2 separate regions of the Homo sapiens genome follow, and region 2 is linked to region 1. Evidence: promoter capture Hi-C in 16 types of primary human blood cells and fetal thymus (Javierre and others, 2016). All regions are on one chromosome and are shown on one strand. The core of a region is centred on a gene start or on the middle of the fragment in contact, and the rest is flanking DNA. Distances in the headings are between cores, read along the strand shown. Region 1 holds the start of TMEM78 (transmembrane protein 78). Region 2 has its middle 22 kb from the start of RHOU.

The links. Contacts are between HindIII fragments. The CHiCAGO score rates a contact against its expected background, and 5 or more counts as called.
Region 2: a fragment that was not itself captured here is called in contact with the fragment with the promoter of TMEM78 in region 1 in 9 of 17 cell types (M2 macrophages, total CD4 T cells, total CD8 T cells and 6 more); the score reaches 9.7 in M2 macrophages.

What each region holds. Positions count from the first base shown.
Region 1 is chr1:229,246,838-229,253,443 of GRCh38, forward strand. TMEM78 (transmembrane protein 78) reads left to right here and starts at 2,799. Exons shown (of 1, transcript NR_172940.1): 1 at 2,799-4,973. All of the region lies in intron 1 of LOC102723935 (a long non-coding RNA gene), which reads right to left. It overlaps LOC124904540 (a long non-coding RNA gene), which reads left to right and starts at 6,513. Exons shown (of 2, transcript XR_007066924.1): 1 at 6,513-6,606. RefSeq lists an enhancer at 6,061-6,606. The HindIII fragment of the contact is 6,724 bases long and covers 373-6,606 here.
Region 2 is chr1:228,710,605-228,717,210 of GRCh38, forward strand. It overlaps a transcript of RHOU not described here. Among named protein-coding and RNA genes, the nearest start is that of RHOU, 22 kb to the right of the region's middle. The HindIII fragment of the contact is 4,938 bases long and covers 1-4,783 here.

The sequences.
Region 1 (6,606 bases), core at 1,549-4,048:
ATTGCATGAGGCCAAGAGTTTGACATGGCAAAACCCTGCCTCTCCTAAAAAAATAGAGAAATTAGCCAGCCATGATGGTACATGCCTGGCTAATTTTTGTATTTTTTTTTTTTTAGTAGAGATGTGCCTGGCTAATTTTTGTACTTTTTTTAGTAATCCCAGCTATTCAGGAGGCTGAGGCATGAGAATCACTTGAACCCAAGAGGCAGAGGTTACAGTGAGCTGAGAACGTGCCATTGCACTCCAGCATGGGCAACAGAGCAAGACTCTGTCTCAAAACCAAAGAAAATTAATAACAGAAAAAAAAACTGATACTAGCCAGGGTTATCTAGAGTTTGGAGAAACAGCATTGCTGACAGGAAAATTAGCATAAGCTTTCTGAAGGCTAATTTGGCTCTATGTACCAGGAATTTAAGATGCACATCCCTCTAATCCAGCTATTCTATGTCTAGACATTTATGCTAAGAAAATAGCCATGGATGTGGGTAAAGATTTCAGTACCAGATTGTTCAAGACAAACCTAGTGGTCGGGCATGGTGGCTCGTGCCTGTAATCCCAGCACTTTGGAAGGCTGAGGTGGGTGGATTGCTTGAGCCCAGTAGTTTGAGACCAGCCTGGGCAACATGGTGAAACCCCGTCTCTACTAAAATAATAATAATACAAAACTTAGTTGAGTGTGGCGGTGTGTGCCTGTAGTCCCTGCTACTCAGGAGGCTGAGGGGGGAGGATCACTTGAACCCCAGAAGTGGAGGTTGCAGTGAGCCAAAATCACACCACTGCACTCCAGCCTGGGTGACAGAGTGAGACCCTGTCTCAAGAAAAAAAAAAAAAAAGACAAATCTATTGCTAGTAGCAAAAAGAAAATTTTTTTTGAAATATCTTAAATGTCCAATAATAGTAGATTAAATGTTTTGATATGTTCAAATAGAATACTATGTCATGATTTAAAATATCTTTATGGAAAAAATATTAGCATGGAAAAACATTCACCATAAAGTGTTCATGTGAAAGAAGTAGATTATGAAACAATACATACACTATATCCCAATAATGTGTGTGTGTGTGTGTGTGTGTGTGTGTGTGTAGAAGGCTAAAAAGCATATATTTCTGTTTTAGTCTGTGCTGCTGTAACAAAATATCACAGACTGGGTAATTTATCAACAATAGAAGTGTATTTGTCACAGTTGTGGAGACTGGGAAGCCCAAGATCAAGGCACCAGCATGTCTGATGTCTGCTGAGGGCTGCTCTCTGCTTCTGTGATGGCACCCTGTTGCTGAGGGAGAAGACAAACCCTGAGTCTTCACTTGGTGGAAGAGAAGAAGGGGCTGAACTGGCTCCCTCAAGTCCTTTTATGAGGCATTAATCCAATCATGCGAGCAGAGTCCTCACGGTCTAATCACCTCCTAAAGACCTCACCTCTTTCTTAATACTGTTACATTGGGGATTATCTTTCAACTCGAATTTTGGTTTTGTTTGTTTGTTTGTGACAGAGTCTCGTTCTGTCACCCAGGCTGGAGTGCAGTGGTGCAATCTCAGCTCACTGCAACCTCCGCCTCCCAGGTTCAAACGATTCTTGTGCCTCAGCCTCCTGAGTAGCTGGGATTACAGGCATGCACCGCCACGCCTGGCTAATTTTTTGTATTTTTAGTAGAGTTGGGGTTTCACCATGTTGGCCAGGCTGGTCTAGAACTCCTGAGCTCAGGCAATCCACCTGCCTCAGCCTCACAAAGTGCTGGGATTACAGGGGTGAGCCACCGCGCCCGGCCTCAGCATGAATTTTGGAAAAGACACAAACATTCAAGCCAAAGCAATATCCTTATGTTAATTCCAGTTATCTCTGACCATGGAATAATGGATAACTATAATTTTATTCTTTGTGCTTCTCTGTACAATCCAATTTCTCTCTACAATAAATATGTATTGCTTTCAGAATCAATGAAAATAAGTTGCATTTAAGAAAAAATTTTTCTCTTCTTCCCAGTTTGAAATACATTTTCTTTAAATTCAAGTCTACTGCCACATTAGGCAGGTTTTGTTTCTTTTTTGTTTGTTTAAATGAAACAAGTAACTGTTCAGCAAGTGGCTAAGAATAACCTCTCCAGGCAGTGGTAAGAAGTAGGAAGTAGGGAAAGAGAGAAAAGAGCTACTCAGGGTCAAAAGAGGCACCGACAGGGTTGGGGGTGGAGTTCAGAATGCCAGGTTAGCTGCCAAGGTACAGAGAGAGAAAGACAGAAACAGAGAGAAAAGGAGGGAGAGAGAGAGACAGAGCAGAGAGGGAGGGAGAGAAGAGAGCACACGTGTGTGCTTTGACCAGCAGGCCAGGATGGGGCTGTTTTCCTCTCCTGTGTCTGCCCCCACCTTGCAGGATCATTTGGAGTCATTGCAGGGCTAGCTTAGCTCTGCCTGAGTCACCCCCAACAGGTAAACTTCTACCAGCAGAGTCTCTCCTTTCGGTTAAAGAGTTGCTTATAGATCTCGTGGTTTTTCAGTTAACATCCTCAGGATCCCCACTTCAGCTCCCACCTTCTTTCCCAGGTCTGGCCTCCCTAGTCCCAGTTTTGGCTCCATCATCCTATTTCCTTCACTCCTTTCCTCCAGCTTCTTCCCAGCTTCTTCCCTTCGTGCATCTGCACCTCAGCTTCCCAGTGCTCTGTGTTCACTTTGCTCATCGCTCGGGCTTCAGCATCTCCCACTATGTTGGTTGATAATTCCCCACCAGAGAGCCACACACCCCTGAGGAAGAAGGGAGAAGCCAGAGGTTTCTGGAAAATCCAGGAGGCGGAGCAGGCTGGAATGGAAGGTAGAGACAACCATGAAAGTTGAACACGTCATCTGTGCAGGACCGTTCATACTGACATGTGGCTTGACACCAGAAATCTGGGTATTGTAATATCATGTTGGAAAGGAGTTTGTGTGCCTCAAACAACTACTCTAGAGATGTTTTACAATGACAATGATAGAGTAGAGGAATCTTCTAATTCCTACCAAATCAGAAGGGAATTCCTCCTTCCTGCCTGCCTGCCTGCCTTCCTTTCTTTCTCTACTTCCTTTTCTTTCTTTCTTTCCTTCCTTCCTCTCTCTCTTTCTCTCTTTCTTCCTTTCTTTCCTTCTTTCTTTCTTTCTCTCTCTCTCTCCCCTTCCTTCCTTCCTTCCTTCCTGAGACAAGGTCTTGCTCTGTCTCCCAGGCTAGAATGCGATGGTGCAATCATGATTCACTGCAGCCTCAACATCCCAGGCTCAAGTGATCCTCCCACCTCAGCCTCCTGAGTAGCTGGGACTACAGGGGCTTGCCACCACGCCCAGCTAATTTGCGTGTGTGTGTGTGTGTGTGTGTGTATGTGGTAGAGATGGGGTCTCACTATGTTGCCCAGCTGGTCTCAAACTCCTGGTCATAAGCAATCCTCCACCTCGGCCTCCCAAAGTGTTGGGATTACACGTGTGAGCCACCATGCCCAGTCTCTATTTCTTAATAGTGTCAGCAACTGAAAGATATAGAAAAGGAAGTCTGTTTGGTGTGTCTGTTGCCTCCCCAAAATCTTCAGCCTTTGTAGGACAGTGCATCCCACTGGGCAAAACCAGAGAATATTCTTTTGTGAGCCCGTAAGTAATTGTCTGCAATAGACATGCAGGGGCCTCTACTGTCATCTCTTATGCAACTGAACTTCCTAAAAACTGTGGTGTTTATCTCTTCTGTTGCTCAGCACTGCTGGGACTGGGACTGCAAAAAACAAAAAAGCACCCAGGTTTACTGCCCTTAAAAAACTGACTGCTAGAGGAGATGAGCATATACATGACAGGATGTGATAAGATATTAAGCAGAATGTGATCAGAATCATAGGAAGTATATACAAAAGATGGGAACACTAATAGAGGTGACTACAACCACCTGCTTTGTAGAGGAGATGACATTCAAGCTGAGTTTTAAAGGATGAGTAGGAGTTGGCCAGAAATGGAGAGGGAGAATAAACCATGGGGAAGTAGTACACAGGCATGGCATGTTTAGAGCATTTTTGGAGCAGGGTAACCAGAATATACTGGAGGTTGCTAGTAGAGGAGATTGGAAAAGAAAGGGTCAGATTATTAATGGATTTACGTATTATGCAAAGAAGTTTATATTTGACCCTTTTTTTGACAATCTGGCATTTAGCCTTATCATAAAATAAAGATCTCTCAATGCTTCACATAGAAACTTCATCTGATCTCTTGAGGATCAAAAAATGGCTTTCTGGGTTTTTTTTCTTTCTCTCTCTCTTTTGTTTTTAATATCTCACATATACTTTAACCACCATAAATTCAAGTTTTCTCTTACTCAGACATGAGTTGCTTAACAATGGAATAATTCATTTCTTTATTTCTCAACATTGCCCTTTTGAAGGTTTTAGGTTTTAGGTTTTCTAAAACTCTGAATACTTTTGGCTATCATTATCCAGGGAAAGCCTGAAGACACTCCAAAGCACAAGGACAAAAGAGACCTTGTTAGATCTAATTAAGCGCTCCAGCACCAGGGGCACGGGGAGCAAGAGAAAAATACAGAGTCAGAAACTGAGCCGAGTTCTATGGTGGTACAGAGTGAGGCCTGCTTCACTGTGGGCTGGGGCTGGGGCAGGGAGGCCTTCATCTTGCTCTAAGCTGTGCAAAGTACCTCCCACGAGGCTAAGTATAGAGCTACTCAATAAAAATTATGCAATGTGGCTGGGCACGGTGGCTCACATCTGTAGTCCTAGCACTTTGGGAGGCTGAGGCAGGTGGATTGCCTGAGCTCAGGAGTTCGAGACCAGCTTGGGCAACACGGTGAAACCTCGTCTCTACTAAAATACAAAAAATTAGCTGTGCATGGCAGCATGTGCTTATAATCCCAGCTACTGGGGAGGCTGAGGCAGGAGAATCGCTTGAACCTGGGAGGCGGACGTTGCAGTGGGGCAAGATGGCGCCATTGCACTCCAGCCTGGGTGACAACGCGAGACTCCATCTCAAAAAAAAAAAATGCAATGCTTAATAAACTCTCTCTTATCCTGATCCTCCTTCCTCTCCTCCTCCTCCTCCCACCACCACGTCTCTCCTCATTCCAGGTGGCTTTAAATATCAACTGTATAATAAAGCCTCCAACGTGTATTTCCCCAACCTTGACCTCTCTTGACTCATACATCCATCTGCCAACTCAACATCCCTCTGTGATAGTTAACAAGCAGCTTATGCTCTACAAATCTTGATTTCTGCATCCTTCACGTGGCAGACGACATTGACCAAAGATGGGCACAATACCTCCTATCCCACATGTTCTTCTACAATGTGACATCGACACCCTCCCATCCAGGGCCAGGGTCCGTGTCTCCTTCCTTTGAACTCGGACCAATCTTCGTGACTCCTTCAAGCAATAAAGGACAGCAGAAATGAGACTATGGGAGTTCTGAGGCAAAGGCATGAAAATGTCACCTGCTTCATATCTTGTTTTCTTGGGAGGCCACTTTTGGAGCCCAGCCGCCATGCCATGAGGGAGTGAACCCCAACACGAGGAGGTGCAGGAGTTCTGGCTGACATCGCAGCTGACGGCCCAGCTGACAGCCAGCATCCACAGCCAGACGTGTGAGTAACAAGCCTCAGATGGCTCCAGCCAACCTTTGAGCTGCCCTAACTAATCTCACCTGCAGCCGTCCCCATCGAACCCTGCCCAGGCTGCAACTGGTGAGCAAATCAAATGATTGCTGATGTTTCATGCCACTAAGTGCAGGATGGTTGGTTTGTTTGTCACTCAGCAGTAGATAACTGAAACGCATCTGCCGAAAACCTTCTCTGATTATAGAGCCATTATCTACTCCACTGCTCAGGAAAAACCCCACTCTTCATCTCCCAGCAAATCCAGTGGATTCTGCCTTCAATTATATCCAGAATCCAGCCATTTCCTGTCACCTCCCTCCCCATCCCCCGCAAGCCTCTATCATCTTTCAGGATGGGCAACAGCCCCTAATGGCTCCCCACGTCTGGACTTTGTCCCTTACAGCCTAGTCTCCATGAGTCTTTAGCATCCTAGTGCCTCTTGTTAGTAACTGTCTTGTGCCCTATCCCTTAATCGCATCAGGTCTCACTCAGAATTTAAAAATAGAAAAATGCTTTCAGTGGCCTACAAGACCCCATATTCTGCCCTACACAGCCTGGTTCACTCCCCATTCCATTGATCTCCCTGCCCCGGCTGCTGTCCCTGCAGGCCCCATCAGTATGCTCCCATCTCAGGGTCTTTGTCTTCTGGAGGGCTCTTCCCCCAGATACCACAACCTTTGCTCCCTCCCTTCCCCTTCGGTCTGGGTACAAATGTCTCCTTATGGAAGAATCCTGCAGGCACCCTACTGAAAGCAGAACTATGGCTTCCCCCGCCCTCTCGCCCTCCAGGCAGGCCCAACCCCCCTCACCATTCGTTTTTTTCACTTACTTATCACCGCTGATGTGCTATATATTTACTTATTTGCCACATCTGTCTCCTCCCACATGCAAGTATTGCTCCATGAGGTCAGGAACTCTGCTTTCTTTACTGCTGCATCCCCGGGAACCCTAACAGCACCTGGAATTAATGAGCATGCAATGTGTACTTGCCGAGCAGATGTGAATGAATT
Region 2 (6,606 bases), core at 1,065-3,564, 540 kb before region 1:
CAACAACCCTTCATGCTAAAAACTCTCAATAAATTAGGTATTGATGGGACATATCTCAAAATAATAAGAGCTATCTATGACAAACCCACAGCCAATATCATACTGAATGGGCAAAAACTGGAAGCATTCCCTTTGAAAACTGGCACAAGACAGGGATGCCCTCTCTCACCACTCCTATTCAACATAGTGTTGGAAGTTCTGGCCAGGGCAATGAGGCAGGAGAAGGAAATAAAGGGCATTCAATTAGGAAAAGAGGAAGTCAAATTGTACCTGTTTGCAGACGACATGATTGTATATCTAGAAAACCCCATTGTCTCAGCCCAAAATCTCCTTAAGCTGATAAGCAACTTCAGCAAAGTCTCAGGATACAAAATCAATGTACAAAAATCACAAGCATTCTTATACACCAACAGACAAACAGAGAGCCAAATCATGAGTGAACTCCCATTCACAATTGCTTCAAAGAGAATAAAATACCTAGAAATCCAACTTACAAGGGATGTGAAGGACCTCTTCAAGGAGAACTAAAAACCACTGCTCAAGGAAATAAAAGAGGATACAAACAAATGGAAGAACATTCCATGCTCATGGGTAGGAAGAATCAATATCGTGAAAATGGCCATACTGCCCAAGGTAATTTACAGATTCAGTGCCATCCCCATCAAGCTACCAATGACTTTCTTCACAGAATTGGAAAAAACTACTTTAAAGTTCATATGGAACCAAAAAAGAGCCCGCATCGCCAAGTCAATCCTAAGCCAAAAGAACAAAGCTGGAGGCGTCACACTACTTGACTTCAAACTATACTACAAGGCTACAATAACCAAAAAAGCATGGTACTGGTACCAAAACAGAGATATAGATCAATGGAACAGAACAGAGCCCTCAGAAATAACGCCGCATATCTACAACTATCTGATCTGTGACAAACCTGACAAAAACAAGCAATGGGGAAAGGATTCCCTATTTAATAAATGGTGCTGGGAAAACTGGCTAGCCATATGTAGAAAGCTGAAACTGGATCCTTTCCTTACACCTTATACAAAAATTAATTCAAGATGGGTTAAAGACTTAAACGTTAGACCTAAAACCATAAAAACCCTAGAAGAAAACCTAGGCATTACCATTCAGGACATAGGCATGGGCAAGGACTTCATGTCTAAAACACCAAAAGCAATGGCAACAAAAGCCAAAATTGACAAATGGGATCTAATTAAACTAAAGAGCTTCTGCACAGCAAAAGAAACTACCATCAGAGTGAACAGGCAACCTACAAAATGGGAGAAAATTTTCACAACCTACTCATCTGACAAAGGGCTAATATCCAGAATCTACAATGAACTCAAACAAATTTACAAGAAAAAAACAAACAACCCCATCAAAAAGTGGGCAAAGGACATGAACAGACACTTCTCAAAAGAAGACATTTATGCAGCCAAAAAACACATGAAAAAATGCTCACCATCACTGGCCATCAGAGAAATGCAAATCAAAACCACAATGAGATACCATTTCACACCAGTTAGAATGGCAATCATTAAAAAGTCAGGAAATAACAGGTGCTGGAGAGGATATGGAGAAATAGGAACACTTTTACACTGTTGGTGGGACTGTAAACTAGTTCAACCATTGTGGAAGTCAGTGTGGCGATTCCTCAGGGATCTAGAACTAGAAATACCATTTGACCCAGCCATCCCATTACTGGGTATATACCCAAAGGACTATAAATCATGCTGCTATAAAGACACATGCACATGTATGTTTATTGCGGCATTATTCACAATAGCAAAGACTTGGAACCAACCCACACGTCCAACAATGATAGACTGGATTAAGAAAATGTGGCACATATACACCATGGAATACTATTCAGCCATACAAAATGATGAGTTCATGTCCTTTGTAGGGACATGCATGAAATTGGAAATCATCATTCTCAGTAAACTATCGCAAGAACAAAAAACCAAAAACCGCATATTCTCACTCATGGGTGGGAGTTGAACAATGAGAACACATGGACACAGGAAGGGGAACATCACACTCTGGGGACTGTTGTAGGGTGGGGGGAGGGGGGAGGGATAGCATTGGGAGATATACCTAATGCTAGATGACGAGTTAGTGGGTGCAGCGCACCACCATGGCACATGCATACATATGTAACTAACCTGCACATTGTGCACATGTACCCTAAAACTTAAAGTATAATAATAATAAATAAATAAATAAATAAAATAAAATAAAATAAAATAAAATAAAATAAAATAAAATAAAATACCCAAAGCTGGAGTTTGCATCTCCTGCAATGTTGCCATATACTGCCAGGGTCTGCCTGACCTAGTCGGATATCTGAGTCTGACTATATATATATAAAGGTATCGATTAATTTCTTTTTTCTTCCTTTTTTTTTTAACCAGGAATGGATGATGAATGTTGTGATATTTTAAGGTACATATTTGGTGTTTGACCCATTTCCTGGCATACAACTTCTAAAATTCTTGGAATTTCCAAAGTGATGTGTCTTTTTTATGCTATTGGGTTGACTGATGGCAGGCAACTCCTAGGTAGCTTCAGGTGGGGGCTGGTCACCAAAAAGACCAATGCAGGATTAGAGAGTTGGGATTTTCAGCCCCACTGCCCAATCTCCAGGGAGGGGAGATGCTGAAGGTTGAGTTGATCACCAGTGGCCAGTGGTTTAATCAATCATGCCTATGTAATAAAGCCTCCATAAAACTCCAAAGGGACTGGGTTCAGATATCTTGTGGATAGCTGAATATGTGGCGGTTTCAGTGCCCAGGGAAGGCATGGAAGCTCTGCTCCCCTTGCCATTCTGTAATTCTTTGTACTATCCTTTTTTTGTTTTTGGCATGCACCAACACACTCGGCTAATTTTTTTATTTCTACTTTTTGTAGAGATAGGGGTTCTCACTATGTTGTCTAGGCTGATCTCAAACTGTTGGCCTCAAGCAATCCTCCCACCTCGGCCTCCCAAAGTGCTGGGATTTACAGGTGTGAGCCACCACGCCCAGCCTGTAATATTCTTTATAATAAACTGGAAAAACATAAGTAAGTTCTATGAGCCACTCTAGCAAATTAATCAAACCCAAGGAGAGGTCATACGATGCCTGTTTTATAGTCAGTCAGTTAGAAGCATGGGCAAAACAACCTGGGGCTTGCTACTGGCATTGGAAGTGGGAGCAGTCTTATAGAACTGACCCAACTGTGGGATCTGACCCTATCTCCAGGTGGATGCTGTTAGAACTGAATTGAAGCATACTCAGCTTGTGTCTGCTGTAGATTTGATTGCTTGCTTGCTGTGTGGAGAAATCCCCACACATTTGGTCATGGAAGTCTTCTGTGTTGATTGTAGTATGAGAGTGGAGGAAGACCAGTTTGAGTTTTTTGTACTCTCAGAAGATGTTAAATATTATAAAAGGTTTTATAGCCTCTATGGAGACAATTACATGATTTTTCTCCTCAAATCTACTAATATGGTGTATTAATTGCATTAATGGGTTTCCTAATATTCCTAATTTGCTGGGTTTTCAGCAAATCAACTTTGAATTGCTGGAATAATTGCCACTTGGCCATGGTGTATTATTTTCTTAATGCGGTGTTGAATTCTGTTTATAAACAGTTTATTTTAAAATTTTGCATCAATTTTCATACATAATATTGGTTTGTAATTTTATTTTTTTCTGCTCTGTAACAAGTTCAGGAATCAATATTATACTTGCTTCACAAAAATAATTAGGAAAATATCCTTCATTTGCTCCGGAACAATGTAGAGATTACCTTATCTTTGAAGTTTTGGTAGAATTTCTCTCTGAAATGATCTAGGTCTCGTGCATTTTGGAGGATAGTTCCTTGATAACTTCCTCCACATATTCTATAGATACTAATCTGTTTAAGCTATGTAAATTTCAACAAGTCAATTTTGGCTAACTGTATTTCCTCAGGACGTTATCCATTTCACCTAATTTTTCAAATTTATTTGCACAGTTTTCAAAATAGCCTCTTGTGATTTATTTTCTCTTGTTTCAATAGTTATTTCTCCTTATTTCTTATTTTGTATTTTTGAATTCCTTCTTCTTTTTTTTCTTAAGTTAGCTAATGGCTTGTTTATTTTGTTAATTATCTTTTTTTTTTTTTTTTTTTTTGAGATGGAGTCTCACTCTGTCACCCAGGCTGGAGTGCAATGGCGTGGTCTCAGCTCACTGCAACCTCCGCCTCCCGGGTTCAAGCGATTCTTCTGCCTCAGCCTCCTGAGTAGCTGAGACTACAGGCACATGCCACCACACCTGGCTAATTTTTGTATTTTTAGAAGAGACGGGATTTCACTATGTTGGCCAAGCTGGTCTCAAACTCCTGACTTCGTGATCTGCCTGCCTCAGCCTCCCAAAGTGCTGGGATTACAGGCGTGAGCCACCGCGCCTGGCCAATTAACTTTAAACACCAGGAATTTGATTTGAAATAGATCTAACTAGATCTATTTTTTTTTTCCTGTCACACTAATTTCTTTTAGCTTCAATTTTTCTTTTGTTGTGTTTTCTTTCTTTTTTTTTCTGGCTTTCTGAGCTGGGAATTTAATTCATTTATTTAAAATCTTTGATTTTTATTGGTAAATGTGATTAAGGCTATGAATTTCCCTATGGTTACTGCTTTAAATAATCATATTTCAAATATCTCATATATTCTGATACACTGTGTTTTAATTATCAATATGTTTTAGAAATTTTATAATTTCATTTTATCTTTCTCTTTTCATCCAAGAGTCCTTAGAGAAAGCTTTTACATTTCTAGGTGAAATGGGCTTTTTTTGCTGCTTTTGTTGTCAATAATTTCTAGTTTTATTACACTGTGAACAAAAATTTGTTTTGATGGAATATTTGGTAATATTGGTAGAATATTCGGTAATATTTATACTTTATGGAACTTACTGATATTTTCTTTATGACCTGACATATAATCAATTTTGGGAATGATCCTTGTACCTTGAGAAGAAATTGTATTTTCTATTGTCAGGCTGAAAACTTTCATATACATTCTTAAGATGTACCGTATTGATTATAGTGTTTAGTTCTTCTATATCTTCATTTTAGTTCTATATCTTCATTTTAGTTCACTAGCTCTGTCTTATTCCCAGGGGGAATTACTAATCTCCCATTAGTAATGTGTTTTTATCTGTTTCTTGGCATCTCTTGTGATTATTATTTTATAATTGTGGTGGATTTTTTTTTGCATTATTTGATGTGATTCATGATAGAAATAGCTTCATTGTGATTTGTGACTTTTAGTTTTAAAAAGTATGAACTTTTTTTTTTTTTTTTTGAGACAAGGTCTCACTCTGTCACTCAGCCTGGAGTGCAGTGGCATGATCATGATTCACTGCAGTCAACATCTTAGGCTCAAGCAATCTTCCCACAGCAGACTCCCAAGTAGCTGGGACTACAGGTGTGCACCACCACACTCAGCTCATTAACAAAAATCTTTTTTGTAAATATAGGGGCCTTGCTTTGTTGCCCAGGGTGGTCTTGAACTCCTAGGCTCAAGCGATCCTCCTGCATTGGTCTTCCAAAGTGTTGGGATTACAGGCGTCAGCCACCACTCCAGGTGGACATTGTTTTAAAAAAGCCCGCTTTACTTTCTCTCTGGAATGCTTCCCCACACCTTGCCCCCTTCCTGTGGATAATTCCTGCTTATCTTTCCCACTGGGGTCCACTGTGGCATCCCACAACTCAAGTTGTCTCTGTCTTATCTTTCTCATAATTAATATATACACTCATTAAATCATTCTATATATGTTAAGTTCCTATGATGTGCCAGGCATGATTCCAAGTACTGAGGAAGAAGTTGTGAAAATAAAGCAAGGGACTTCCCTCAGGCAGCTCACCATCACCATTTATTGTCCTTTCCTAACATTTTACACACATTATAGTTTAATATCGTCTGCTTATCACCTATAAGCTTCATGAGAAAATGGATGGTGTTTGTTTTGTGTACTGTTCAAATCCCAGCACTTATTACAGTGGTCACAACATAGTTGACATTCAGTAAGTATATATTAAATGAATCTACATCTGTCTGTATTTATTATTTTATTTTATGTATGTTATGTGTGTGTGTATATATACATATACACACACATGTGTGTGTATATGTATGTATATTCCAGATTATTGGAAACTGGTCACAATCACGCATCAAAAAATATGTTTTTTTCAGTTTGACTATGAATTTTTTCTCACCCAGGCACAGTCTGAAATCCATCATGACGAACTGTCACTAAGAAATAGAGAGCACTTCATTTCCTATTCAGGAAAAATTCCAGTTCTCATTTTCACCTTTGACAAAGAGAGTTCATTTTTATTTTCCTCTCCAGGGATTAGAAAGTTTGGAACCAGGTGGCACTCTTGTGGGCATCCTGAAATGACACTGGCTGCTGTCCATTAGGAAGGCTGTGGTGAGGCCTTGCTATCAGTGCAGATGACAGGGCTGGAAGGAACTGAAGTCAAGAGTTAGTCTTTTCGGGCCACTGAAACAAAAGCATTTCCTTTCACTGGGAGGATTTTTGGAAGAACAAAGAATTTGAGATCTTTCAAACTGTCC